Regions from separate parts of the Homo sapiens genome. Here all the other regions are linked to region 3. Evidence: promoter capture Hi-C in 16 types of primary human blood cells and fetal thymus (Javierre and others, 2016). All regions are on one chromosome and are shown on one strand. Each heading gives the region's core, a stretch centred on a gene start or on the middle of the fragment in contact. The rest is flanking DNA. Distances are from core to core; before and after follow the strand shown. Region 1 overlaps PHF21A (PHD finger protein 21A). Region 2 has its middle 23 kb from the start of LINC02710. Region 3 holds the start of PHF21A (PHD finger protein 21A).

Region 1 (4,749 bases), core at 1,111-3,610, 120 kb after region 3:
CTTTGCATGTTTTTGAACACATGGTAGGTATGCAGTGAGCTAGTGTTGATAGATGTCTCGTCACGTTATGGTTGGTTGGAGGGAAGAAAGATCACTTTTTAAGTTAGTCACTCTATATTTAAGTGTTTTTGTAATGGGAAATCACCTGTAAAACGAGCTTGCAGGAACGCTCTAAAGATTAAAACTGTGAAGTGTGTGGCATATGCTAGGCACTTAATAAGTAAATAATAGCTCTTGTTATTGTTATCTTTAAATTTTACTGACTGTTGTTCTGACTTTGACTTTGCATTTTCTGAGATCTTTGAAAATACATATTGTTAGTACCTGTTGATTTGTATTTTGTGCCTTTGAAGGAAAGAATAGAAATATTATTCCAAGGGAGGGTTGTTGGTCTTAAAATATTTTTGTGCCATTTTTATTGTAGGCAAGTATATCACATTCTAATAGGCGTTTAAGACAGTTCAATACTTAATACAAGTGTATCTTTTTAAATAAGACATTTGACCAGCTGAATAGATTGTAGTAACCTGTTGTAAACTAGTTTCAGCTGAAATCTCACTGATCCCACTAGATGGCGTTAGTTCATTAAGGCATAACTTCATCCTCTAGCTCAGGCAGACAGCTGCCTGTGTAGATGAACTGATTTTAGTATCTTTAGAGAGTGAATGTGGCAGTAAACTTTTAGACTCCTTGTTATTTATATAGCGTGATTTGTGGAGGTTATTCAGAAAGTTTAGGAAGATAGAACACTGAGGGCAGATTTATTCAAACTAAAGAACTATAACAAGTTGCAATATTTCGTTAGGTGCTTATTAATTCTGGATTTGACTTAGCCTTTGCCCTAATTGTATATACAACCGAAAGATTAAGAATTTACTGATTTCTCATGGTTTTTTGCCCTATTAAAATAATTCTTGTTTGGGCTTCTGGAAGCATTGGAAAACAAATGAAAATTGGGAGTACACATTTTTTAAAGCATGAAGTTTATAACATTTAATTTTAAAATCATTTGGCTCTTATTTATAGGAACTATGTCAACAGTGATCTACTTGTCAGTTAATCTGGTTCTTTAATCGTAAATGTAAAATAACAGTGAACATCCTAATTCTTTAATTCTCTCTTGTCTGAATTTGAATTATTTTTTATCTACAAAGACTGTTTTATATTAGACCAGCCCATTTTCAAAGTTTAAAATTGTGCTTTTCCACAGGCATTTGTAGGCTCCAAATAAACTTTTAAAATTGTATGTTTTATTTTTCTTACTGTTCTTGAGAGTTCTGAAGTTGAAGTTTTTTAAAGAAATGAATACGATTCACATGCAAAAAAAGCATTTCCACATTTCATTAGAAGTGTTTCTTTTTTCTTTATGATCAGATTCATACAGCTAGAGTAAATTGTTTCAGAATTGGTGGGATGATCCGTCTTGAGCTATGGAAGCTTAATTGTGCTACAAATATTATTCTTTTATTCATTGCTCATAGGGAGTAAGTAGTTGGTGCTGATGGTTCCCCTAATGTTTATTTAACTATTCCAGTATAAGGCAGTTCACATTTCTTAGTAAAAGGATCGTTGATAGTTTCATTTACCTAGTATGTAATAAAAAGCTGAGAATAATCAGGGGCATTTGCTAATGGAGTCAAAATAACCTGTTTTATAAGTCAGAACAGGAAGGTCTGAACATTTGGTGCCCATTAATTAAGTTAATATTGCAAATGAGGTTTTTGCTTTTCTTATTATCTTGAAACCTTCAACCAGAAAAAGCAACTGCCTAAGATTATTTGGTATATACAAGGCGTTAATATATTGTGCAAATATTCTACAGTCTGAAAAATCTCAAAATCTGAAACACTTCTGGTCCCAAGCATAAATTTGTATAAATTTTATACAATATTTTACATCATTTTGTACATGAAACAAAGTTTTGACTGCATGTTGACTATGATCTATCACTTGAGGTCAGGTGTGAAGTTTTCCAGTTGTGGCATCACGTCAGTGCTCAAAAAGTTTTGGATTTTGGAGCATTTTGGATTTCAGATTTTTCAGATTAAAGATGCTCAACCTGAATTTTTGGACTGCGGTTGCTCTTGGTAACTGAGCCTGCAGAAAGTGAAATTACTGATGTGGGGGACTGCTGTATTAGTTGGGTGTATACATGCATGTGTTAAAATTTAACTGCATAATCTCATTTTCCATATTCAGAGACATTTGCAGTAAGAGACAAATATTATTGTAAAGGGAAAAAGTAAACTTTGTTGTGTAGTGCTTATCTGTTTCCCTGTGTTTTTTCTTGAGGGTAGCCATGATAAAGAAGGGGAATAAATTTCGAACACATGTAAGTATGTGTGTAGTGAATGGGAGAGAGGGAGAGATGGTATTTTCAGGAGGCATAAACTGTATTTTACAAAGACATCTTTTAGATGATGAGTCCTTTAGTCTTGAGGAGACAGTTCAATGGAAAGCATTCTAGGCCTGGCAGATACAGCCCTCATCCACAGTAAAAGTTAAGTGCTATGAAAAAGTAATAGTCTGTGCTATGCAAACCAATATGAAGAAAAGTGAGTTTTTGTTTGATAAGAGGTCAAATGAGCACAGTTCTTTAAAACTTTTATGTTGAAGAAAAGAATAGAGAATATTCTGTCATAGCTACTGATAAAATATTTCAGTTTATGAAATATTGTCACTTACATGTTTTAAGTAGCTTTTAATATAATCTTAGAACAAGGACTTCCTTCTCTCCTCTACCCCTTCCCTACTCCCCAGTGTCTCTTATTTCTTATCTATTAAAAGTGAAATCCATTTCCTTTGGTCAAAAGTACAAGTTTTTTACAGTGTCCAAGACATCTCAAATTGATTCACTTTGTTATATAGAAAACACCATCTGTGATGTCAGACCATTTCTTAGAAAATTGACTGTTAAGAGCTCTTTTGCATTGAGTTATTTGGTTTTTATGAAGATGAACATTGGATGAAATTTCTTACCAGTATGCATAATTCAATGATTTTAAGAATCTATGGAAAATAAATTTAAACATTTTTAAATGAAATGGGATAAGAAAAAGGGGAGACAGGATTTTATTCATTGGTATATCTTTTTAATTTTCTACTTTGTGACTCCGTTTAAAAAAACCAACTCTGTAATTTTGAAGCAGAGATTCTGAAATTACCACTTTTCTAAAAATATCACTTACAGCTGAAACTTAATATATTGAAGCATTTTTGTTCTGAGGATGATACATATTTTCATAAAGATGTATTTCCAAATGGAAACAGCACTGAAGCTTCTGAAATAGGGAACCTTTCCAAAATAGGCTGTGGTTGCCTGGGTGAAGAATATTAGGTTGCAACACTCAAAAAGGAAATCCTGGCATAGGAAGCAATTGATGAAGGGCAAATGTCTGCAGAGTGTAATGAAGCTTTTAAAAGCACTTGTGTGGGCCTGCATGCAAGGCCTTGCCAGTACTTTTCAAATTAAAATTCATGTGCTCTGTAGTGTGCTGAGCCATACTCATACTTCCATCTTTACTTCTCTTCTACATAATATATCATTCTTATTTTTAATCTTCTATAAGTACTAGTCATCATCCTAGTGAGAATTGTAGCGTTTTCTCACTCTGCCCTTCGTGAAAATGTCATCATCATTATGGGCAGCAGGGCAGCTTTATGGTGTTTTAAAAATCAAGTTCATCAGCATTTTTAAGCTATCAATTTCTTGTTTTAGTGTCATTAGTACTATGAATATTGAATATTTTATGACTCTTTAGTTTTATAAAATATTTTTTTCTTTTAGCAGTGGGGGAGAGGATAGGTATTATCCTCATTTTGTAACAGTATTAACACCGAAGAGAGTCTGAGTGATGACTAGACACATAGATGGTGTGAAAAGAAAACTTGGCATTTTTTTTTTTTTTTGAATGTTAGCCTTTAACCCAAGCTCTTTCCTCCATACACTATATGCACAAAGTTTTTAGGACTTTTTTTAGTGGCACTCTCATATACAGATTTTCTTTTCAAAGCAAGAAATAATCTGAGCTTTAAAAAGATTCTATTGAGGAAATTATTCTACTCCTGTTTTTATAGTCTCAGAATGTCTCAAGATAATTTTAAATGGGTTTGTGCTATTTGGGGGAGAAGAGAAAGTCACAGAAACTTACCTGATTTTGCAAATCCAAAACAGTTAGAAATCATAGTATTCAATCTTTAGAAAAATTTCTGTAGCAGATATTTATCCAATTAATTCATTTTATTTGAATTCATTTAATTTGAGCTGTGTTTTAAGTAAAAAGGTATCAATGATCTACTTAATGTTAAATACATTGGGTGTTTTTTTGTTTTGCTTTGTTCTAGAGACTTTTTTTTTCATTACAAATTTCGGCCTTGGGGAAGAAGGGTCTTTTGAATAAAGATAAAACTAGTTCTGTGGAGGGGTTTGAGGGGGTGCCTCTAAATTCCCTGAAATGTGTGCAAAATTGTTTTATATGTTTGCACACATAGGACATTTTACGGGGACAGAGTCCAAAGTTCTTCATTATATCCCTTAAAGGTGTATATGACATCCCCTTTATCTAATGGTAATATCTGTGACGTAAATAAGTTCCCTTATGAAGTTTGAATATACAGCACTTTCTGCCCTTAAATGAAAAAGGCCATGTGTGAATTCCTTTTTTTTTCCCCCAAATAGTGCTTTCAAAAGCCCAGAAGTATTTGCTGAGGGTGGTTCTCAAATAAATCATCATTTATAAATGGAAAGAG
Region 2 (4,344 bases), core at 1,569-4,068, 120 kb before region 3:
AATGTAAACAACATCCACCTTCTGTGGTGTCATAAGGAGTAAGAACATGTAAAGTGCTTAGAATAATGCCTGAGACATTGACAATCACTCAATATGTTAGGTAGTATTACCTCCAGAGTTTTTGTTTGTTTTTGAGACAGGGTCTCACTGTCACCCAGGCTGGAGTGCAGTGGCACCATCATAACTCACTGCAGCCTCAACCTCCCGGGCTCAAGCAATCCTCCCACCTCGCCTCCCCGGTAGTTGGGACTACAGGCACGCGCCACTATGCCCAGCTAATTTTTGTGTTTTTAGTAGAGATGGGTTTTACCATGTTGCCCAGGCTGGCTGACCTCCCAAAGTGCTGGGATTACAAACATGAGCCATTGTGTCCAGCAATTACCAGAGTTTTTCACCAAATGTGGTAGACGAGACAATTTAGCATATATATATATATATATATATATATGGCTGGTCAAGTGAAGCAGTGTGAGTGGAGAAGAAAAGAAAAAAGAAAAGAAAGAAATCTGTAACTGAATGTGATCAGTTAGTTGCAAACACCACTGCACTCGGACCAGCCCATATATATATTTTTTATTTTAATAGTTTTGAATTTATTTTCAGCCTGTAGCTTTGCTAATGTTATTGCTTAGGGCAAAGCTATCTAAAAAAGGGAAACGGTTTAAAGTTAAAGAAAAAGTTAATAAAATAAAAGTCTATTAAAATATATAATAGTGGTGGAATGTGGACATGGAAGCAAACCGTGAAGGCAATATCCGAACAGCTGAAAATTTTGGAAAATAATCGGTGACGTCTCCTGCTCATAAAACCTAAAACAGATGAGCGAGGCAGAGGAGATACTGACAAAGGAGGTATCAAAATCTTGCCTCCTTTCCGCCCCGTAGCCACAATGCCTCCCTTCTTAAGAAAGTGTGTGGTGTGAGGGCCCAGACCCGCGAGGCTTGACTGTGCTTCCGAGCTGTGGATCCTGGACAGTGCTGCGGATCGGGGGCGCAGGAGAGGGACGCCGAATCCAAAGGCCCAAGTCTGGAAACCGAAGCCAACTTCCCAACTTCGCTCTGCCGGTGCGTTTGGGGAGATTTGGGCCTCTCTGATTTTTTTGGATCACTGGGTCAATCAGTCAGCCAATGCCTCGGGAGAAGTTTAATTAAGCTCAGATCGCAGGCGCGAGCTGCCAGAGGTCTCCCTGGCCGACCGGCCCCGCCCCCCGCACATCTGGTGAAAAGCTCCCCCTCCGCCCTTTGGGGCGGGGCCGCAGCCCGCGCATGCGCGTCGGCCCGGTTCCCGGCGCCCCGCAGCAGGACTCAACTCCCAGAACAGCGTTGCAAACTGTTGCATCAGACAGCAAGCAGCCGGTCGGGCTGCCAGGGTTTCTAGGAAGATAGGAAGGGTTTGAGATCCTCTGTGGTCGCCTGGGAGCTTTGGCTGTCACTCACGGTGTTTACATGCCGGTAACGCGATCCCCTAAAATATCAAGCTTGCACCCATCAGAGGAGGGCCATAGCCACAGGTGAAATTCCCTGAACGCCATTGCTCCTGTCCTCACTCCACGCCCTGACCCAGGCGGGACTAACTGAACTGGACTTCGTCTGCTTTATTAATGGCAAGGGCCCTGAAGGAATCAGCTGGGTTCGATTTCTCTTCCCAAGTACAAGAATGCCCCCTGAGGAATTTCTCACTCTGTGAAAGTGCAGAACTAATTTCCCCTGACAAGTGCTATTGCCGGTTCCCAAAAGGGTTTGGAAGGATCCCAGCAGAAATGTTCAGTGGTTTCCAAATCTCTTTACCCCAGCAGCTGGACACACAGACCCTGAGCTAGGAGCCCCTTTGGGCATCCAGAACTTCTTGGTGGGTGGACACACGTCCTTGACACATAGGTCTTCCTTTTGTCGTATCTCAGGCCCCTTGTTATGAAGACTTTGGATATTAGCCAGAAAATGCACAACCACAAATTCATGCACACATATATATTGAGCAGCACACATATACAATGAGTTCTCTGGGTCCAAATGGCTTTAGCAACTCAGGTCAGTGGAAAAGTCGTTCTTACGTTCCCTCACTCTTCCGGCCTCTGGGCCATTCTTCCTCAAAGAGAGAAAATAATGCTGTATCTAGAAGGGATAGGACAAGCTAAGCTGGTGGGTGGGATATTCAAGAAGAATGAGAGCACTGATTTGGAATCTAGTTTTTAAAGGGATTTTCAAGGACATAATCTGAATCCCATGGCTCAATCCTCTTTTTTTTTTTTTTTTTTGGAATGGGTCAAGACCAAGATCATTCAGTATTAATGGATTTTCCAGAAAGACAAAAACTGGCAATTTACCTTGAGCATTCTGCATCTTTAGGGTGTTGATGGTGAAAGTCTATTCCCTGTGAATAATTCTGAGAACTAAAACAGGCCTAATGTCTTCCTTCCCCTTCATTATTATCAATCACTCGATCCCAAGATTAAAAAAAAAAAGACCCAAAAGACTCATAAGCATTATTCGATGCGTCCCTTGCCAGACAGTCACTGTTGTTTGTTTTAGCTAGCATTTTCCTGTGAACAGTGGAGTATTATGTCACTATGGGATTCTCATTGTAATAGATGTTTCATAAATATGACCTGAATTATTTCAGTTGTCACAGTGTTCTTATGAATGGAAGGAAAGCCAACTAGGAAAGGATGGGACGGCATTGGCAGGTCCTGGAGCTAGAACATTCCCAAGTTCTGCTCCTGAAGGTCCATCAGGATCCAAACCTGCCAAATGGGTACCCCCAAGGTGGGGTTCTAAAGTCAGCAGGTATGGTCTCAGGAAGCTGCCCGGAGCTGATAGAATGTCAGATGTGTCTGGTCAGGCATGGTGGCTCATGCCTGTAATCCCAGCACTTGGGAGGTGGGCGGATCATCTAAGGTCGGGAGTTCGAGACCAGCCTGACCAAAATGAAGAAACCCTGTCTCTACTAAAAATGCAAAATTAGCCGGGTGTGGTGGTGCATGCCTGTAATCCCAGCTACTCGGGAGGCTGAGGCAGGAGAATCCCTTGAACCCAGGAGGCTGAGGTTGCGGTGAGCTGAGATGGTGCCACTGCACTCCAGCCTGGGCAACAAGAGTGAAATTCCGTTTCAAAAAAAAAAAAAAAAAAAAGTGTCTGAGTAGTTGTTCCCACATGGAGAAGCAAGTCAGTTACTATGGTGGAGCCAAACCTGAAAGTTGGAGCCATGAAGAAAGGAGCCAGGTGGAGGTGGGAACAGGAGAAGGTGAGCCCATGAGCTCATGCTAGGTTCTCTGCTGTCCTCCCAGCACCTACATATAATGGGCTCTCAATACATGTCTGTGGAGTGAAGGTACTGAAAGAAGGAGGGAAGAAGAAGCAGACTGAGGAAAGGGCAAAGAAGTCCAATAATTTTGCAGGAGGCCACCTGGGATGGCCAGGGTATTGGGTGAAGAGGGGGAATTCTTCCAGTTTAAAGGCACAGGGCAATACAGTCAGAACTATTAAGTGACAAGTCCCATGACTTTGTTTTCCTCGTTTGGAAAAACCTCCAGTTGGTGGTTCCAGAGCTGAGCAGTCATTCTACTTCACCAAGCCTAGTGACATCATCACCTATTGCCTCACCTTGATTGAATTTCCAGAGCAAATTTCTGGAAAAGGGAGGGGTCTGAGGAGTGACTGAGATCTAGAGGACAGGAATATCACCCCAGAAGCAACACTTCAAAACCATAAGCAGGCCGGGCGTGGTGGCTGATGCCTGTAATCCCAGCACTTTGGGAAGCTGACGTGGGCGGATCACCTGAGGTCAGGAGTTCGAGACCAGACTGGCCAACATGGTGAAACCCCATCTTTTCTAGAAATACAAAAATTAGCCGGGTGTGGTGGCAGGTGCCTGTAATCCCACCTATTCGAGAGGCTGAGGCAGGAGAATCACTTGAACCCAGGAGGCAGAGGTTGCAGTGAGTTAAGATTGTGCCATTACACTCCAGCCTGGGCTACAAGAGTGAGACTCCGTCTCAAAAAATAAATAATAATAATAATAATAAATAAAACCATAAGCAACGTGGTAGCCCAGATGGTCAGATGATGCAAGCATGTACTAAAAGGGTGATTTGTTTTACACATTCATTGGGCACTCACAGATTCTAGACACTATACCAAGCCCAGACCCAGACAAAGCTTCTGCCCTAAGGGCTTATGATCTAAATTCCTTGTGGAAAGTCTGTTTTTGAAATGTTTAAGGCATCTCATTTAATCCTCATTTCCATTTCAAGTCATGTACCTCCTTCCTGAGAAACCCACCACATTTTAAGTTTGTAGCTGGCTTTCCTTCTGTTTTTGCTATTTATGTGCCAATTTAAAGGGTGGG
Region 3 (4,483 bases), core at 1,026-3,525:
GTTGATAGCCTGGGATGATTTGAAATCACACCATTAGGTTATAGTTCCAGTGACTGGCCAGTGGGTCCAGCTTGAAAGACCCCCTCCCTCATTTTAAATACATTACAGTTAGCTCTAGATGGTAAAGCTGGGTCTTACTACCCAACCTGTCCTCCCGTTATTCATCTTGACTGCGTTATGGGTTTAGTTTCACAACATTATGAGTTCATCTAGGCTTCTTGAATCATTTATAGGAATTTTCATTTTCACTCTCAAACTCTTACACTTTCGCTGCTGTGAATTTTTTTTAACATAAAGCTCAGACTACTAAATGGCCTACACATGTACCATAAAGTCCATATTTTATTTTTTAAGAAATCAGAATTTTTAAAAATTGCTTTTTCTTGAGAAACTAAACTTAATTTTGCAGGTCACGAAAGTAAAAAAATACCTTCATATCCAATGATCTCAAAGCACCTCTTGTGAAAATACATAACAAGGTAATAGAAATATTATTTAATGGAAAAGATGTGACTAGTAAAGTCCAAGGCTATTTCTGGTTCTGCGAATGACTCACTTTGACTTTGGGCAAATCATCTCACCACTGTTGCTCTTTATCTGCAAAAACTGGATTTCATGCCTATGGGAGTTGCATGGCTAATCAATGCCTGGAAAATGCGTAGTGGCAGTTGCTACAAAAGTGCTGAGCTTTAAAAACAAAACCCCCCACCCCCCCATTTGTATTCAGTTGAGGTTGGGGTTTATTGTTATTTAACATTCGAAGGCCAACACTATGTTAAGTCCAGAGTGCTGCACAGATCAGATAATATCACTGTCCAGTAGGGGTTTTTTTTAATCTAAGATTTTTTACTTTTAAAAAATTTATTGTGGTTGGGGGTTTAGAATCCGGTAATACATCCATACAAAAACGTTAAGCTTCAAGTTGAAAACTATCGATTCGAAAATCTAAATAAACCCCCTCCAAAAAAAAAAAAAAAGGCCCTCCCCCGCCCCGCCAAGAAATCTCTCAAAACAAGAATTCTTCTGATGTTTTTCTCCTCCCTGCAATTCTCCATGTTACAGTCCTTGGAGGTAGAATAGGCATAAAATACTTTCACTAATAAAATATGACAAACCGCCGGATTATACGTGGCCGATTCCCAGTGATTGCCCTGCTACACAAAGCAGAAAAGTAAATGCCATCATCCCCCTTAGAACAAAAGAACTTAGGAATAAAAAACATGGAGAGGGGGGAGAAAGCAGCAATAAATAAAGGTGAGCGAAGGCCCCCGTCCCCCGCCCCTCCCGGGAGCGAGTGCTGGACTAAGTACTGCTAATAAAGTGGTTCAAGGGTAGTTATTTGGAAAGGGGGCGGGGTGGCGAGGGGAGGGAGCGGGCGAGCGGCGGCCGGGGATTGCATGTTGCATTCGACTTGAGGTTGCATCTTTCTCCTGTTGCCTGGACCACGCTCCCCCATTGCAGTGCTTCCCCATCACTTCTCCTCGCTCCTGCCCCTCACGGCTTTCCCCCCCCCCCTTCAAACTGCTGTTGCACTGGAGGGAGTTGGGGCCGCTCTGGAGCCCCTTTGCAGCTCCCGCCGGCGGGAGGGGGGAGTTGGGCTCGGGCCGCGGAGTTGGGGGGGCCGCCGCGGGCTCCGGCCTCGCCTCGGCTGCGGCTGCACGGGAGCCGAGCTGCGGCGCTGCACGGGCCCCGGAGTTTGGCTGCCTTCGCCGCCGCTCGGTGCTCGGCCCCATCACCGCCGCCGCCGCCGCCGCTGCACTGGAGTTTGGCTGCCGCTGCCCTACTTCACTCTAGTTTAGTTTCACTCACTTTACATCCGGGTTTTTTCCCTAGGCAATGGGTGCCGCAGCACACCCCGTTCCTTAGGCAAAGTGAAATAAATTCGCCGCACCGACACGTCAAGTAGTCCGCCCGCCCGAGCGCCGCCGCGGGCCCCCGTCGCCCCCCCCGCCGACGCCCCACCGCCCCCGGTGGGGGGACCCGAGCGTCCCGGGAGCCGCGGGCCGAGGCGCGGGGGCCCGGGCCGGCCGCCGTACCACTCCGCCCGGCGGCCCCCTCCCTCCCCGCCGCGGCCCGCTCTCCCCCGGCGCCTCCTCTCCCCTCGCCCTCGTCCCCGCTTTCCCAGCCCCAGTCCCTCTCGCCCGGCTCTCGGGAGCGGCGGGGGCGCGCACGGCGGCGGCGGCGGCGGGCCGGCGGGGCCGCGCGGCGGGCTCCCGCGCGGGCGAGTGTGTCTGGGCCTGGGCGGAGGGATCCCCGGGCTGAGGCGGCGGAGGTGCTGCGGCCCGGGGCCGGGTGGTGAATGGGCTGGTGGTGCTCGCTGCTGCTGCTGAGAGGAGGAGGAGGATGAAGAGTTGGGCTTGTTTGTCTCCTACAGTTTCTCTCCTGCTGCTCTGATTCCCCCCTCCCGATTCCGGCCCGGGGCCTGTGTGTGTCCCTCCTGGAGGAGGAGGAGGATCCAGTTCCTCCCCCCAACCCCCTCCTCCCCACCCCCCCTTGCCTGGGGAAGAGGAGGAAAGAAACAGCCCAGAGAGAGAGAGAGAGAGAGAGTGAGTGAGAGAGAGAGGAGAGGAGAGGAGGAGGAGGAGGAGGGAGAAGGGAACAACCTACCATCTTAACACACTAATATCTAAAAAGTGCGAGAGGCCCAGAGCAGCAGCAGAAGCAGCAGCAGCAGCTCCAGCTTCTTCCCTCCCTCCCCATGAAGAAGAGTTCCCTCCTCCTCCTCCTCCTGCTTCTCCTGCTCAGAGTTCCTGCCTCCAGCTGCCAGGGGGGACAGCCAGCCAGCAGCAGGAGGGTGCAGTATCCCAGCTTTTCCATTCTCTCTTCTTCTCACTCTCCTCTCTCTCTTTTTTTCTGGAGTAGCTCTATTTCCCCTCCCTCCCCCTTCCCCCTCTGCCTCTCTCCTCTCTCCCTCTGTCTTGTCGCTGGTGTTTGTCTCTGGGAGGATCAGGGGCTGCCTGCTTGGAGTTTGTTGTGGGGGGAGGTAGGGGGAGGGGAGGGGTGTGTGGGAGGGAGGAGGGAAAGGGGGGTGTTCTCGTCAGGACCCCTCAGTCAACTTGAGATTTGAGCAATAACTTCCCCTTCGGGGCGCCCCCCTGCGTGCCCTTCCCATACCTCCCCCCCGAAAAAAAAGACAATGGGAAAACCTTGGCTCCCCCCCCTCCCCTCTGCCCTCCACCCCTCCCCAGGATAAATTGGAAGTAAGTTTATGAGCAGCCTCGGAAGCCTGGGCGCAGAGTGCAGGGCCGGAGCCGGTGACAGAGGCGGCGTGCCGGGGGCGGCGGGGAGGGGGCGTCACATTGTCCCGGCGGGGGGCCGGCCGGGGGCTGCGGGCGGGGGCGGGGGGCACGGAGCCTCGCCCGCCCCCCCTCGGCTGTCCCTCGGCCGGGGAGGTAGCTGGGGCTCCTCCATCCCCCCCACCCCACCCCGGGATGCTGTCGGGGGGAAGTTTTTATTATGATTATTTATTTAATTAAAAAAAATTTTTTTTTGGAAAACCATCTTGTTTGTTGACTGAGGGATCTGGTTTAAAAAAAAAAAAGCTGCGGCTGCTGACGCTGCCGGGCCCCAGTGTGTGTGTTTGTGTGTGTGTGAGTGTGAGTGTGTTGGTGCATTTGTCTTGGGTGGCCGGAGCAGCGTTGGGGAAATTCCGCTTATTCTTCTTCTTCTGCAACTTGTTATTCCGGAGAGTCTGCCTGCACCCCTCACCCCGGGGCCGGCCCTCCCGCATTCGCCCCCGCCGCCGGCGGCCGCGGGGCGCCCCCGGGACCCCGAGCGGGCCGGGGCGGACAGGCCGCTCCGAGAGGGGCCGCGGCCGCCCCTCCCCCGCCCGCGCCCCCGCCGGGGGGAGGGGCGCGCGGAGTGGGACTCTTTCCGTTTGGTCCAGCCCCGTCGTGCACGCAGTTCCCAACACTTCTCGTCATCCTCTCTTTGGTCTCTTTATTCTGCTGAGCGGTGCTGTTAGGATTTCTTTTTTTTTTTTTTCCCCTGACCACGTTCGCGATGGTGGGTAGCAGCAAGGTGGCCCTGGTAGGGGAGGGGTTGGTATCGAGATTGGGCACCGGAGGAGAACGCCTTCTTTCAACTTTGTCTGTGGCTTGCACCCCCGGAGAAGGCCACAGGCCGGTTGTCGGGTGCAGATGTGCCGAGAGTGATTTCTAAGTAGTTGAGTTGTTGTGATGAGGGTACGACTGCTAATGGTCGGCAGGTTTTGTTTTCATTGGTGAATCTGGTGTCATCATATTCCGGTCATATGTTGAAATATTCTTTGTTTAGGTCTGGAAGTAGAGGATCTCACTCTGCACGTCCACATTGTGTTGTTTTTAAAATGATGTCTCTGGGAGTCTGGATTTCTAGAATTTCAAATCTGAGTGAAGGTCCGGGCATGTGTGGGCCTCATCACCTGGCCTTGACAGTGAACTTTGTGGCTGTGTTTCAGATTTCAAAGATTTGCCCCATAGCTGGGGAAGGAGTTGTGCATTTT

Evidence for each region. The method cuts DNA at HindIII sites, captures the fragments that hold promoters and counts their contacts. A CHiCAGO score of 5 or more calls a contact.
Region 1: a fragment that was not itself captured here is called in contact with the fragment with the promoter of PHF21A in region 3 in 1 of 17 cell types (megakaryocytes); the score reaches 5.4 in megakaryocytes.
Region 2: a contact is called between a fragment that was not itself captured here and the fragment with the promoter of PHF21A in region 3, in 5 of 17 cell types (M0 macrophages, M2 macrophages, M1 macrophages and 2 more). The highest score is 10.3, in M0 macrophages.

What each region holds. Positions count from the first base shown.
Region 1 is chr11:46,002,444-46,007,192 of GRCh38, reverse strand. All of the region lies in intron 6 of PHF21A (PHD finger protein 21A), which reads left to right. Among named protein-coding and RNA genes, the nearest start is that of LARGE2, 82 kb to the right of the region's middle. The HindIII fragment of the contact is 1,841 bases long and covers 1,440-3,280 here.
Region 2 is chr11:46,240,374-46,244,717 of GRCh38, reverse strand. No RefSeq gene overlaps it. Among named protein-coding and RNA genes, the nearest start is that of LINC02710, 23 kb to the right of the region's middle. RefSeq lists a silencer at 1,137-1,346, enhancers at 425-1,358, 1,359-2,292 and a cis regulatory region at 790-1,672. The HindIII fragment of the contact is 2,677 bases long and covers 1,480-4,156 here.
Region 3 is chr11:46,119,246-46,123,728 of GRCh38, reverse strand. PHF21A (PHD finger protein 21A) reads left to right here and starts at 2,275. Exons shown (of 19, transcript NM_001352027.3): 1 at 2,275-2,794. It overlaps LOC105376661 (a long non-coding RNA gene), which reads right to left and starts at 1,584. Exons shown (of 3, transcript XR_931252.4): 1 at 1-1,584. RefSeq lists silencers at 1,443-1,752, 2,193-2,252, 3,666-3,745, 3,816-3,875, 4,059-4,216. The HindIII fragment of the contact is 5,748 bases long and covers 918-4,483 here.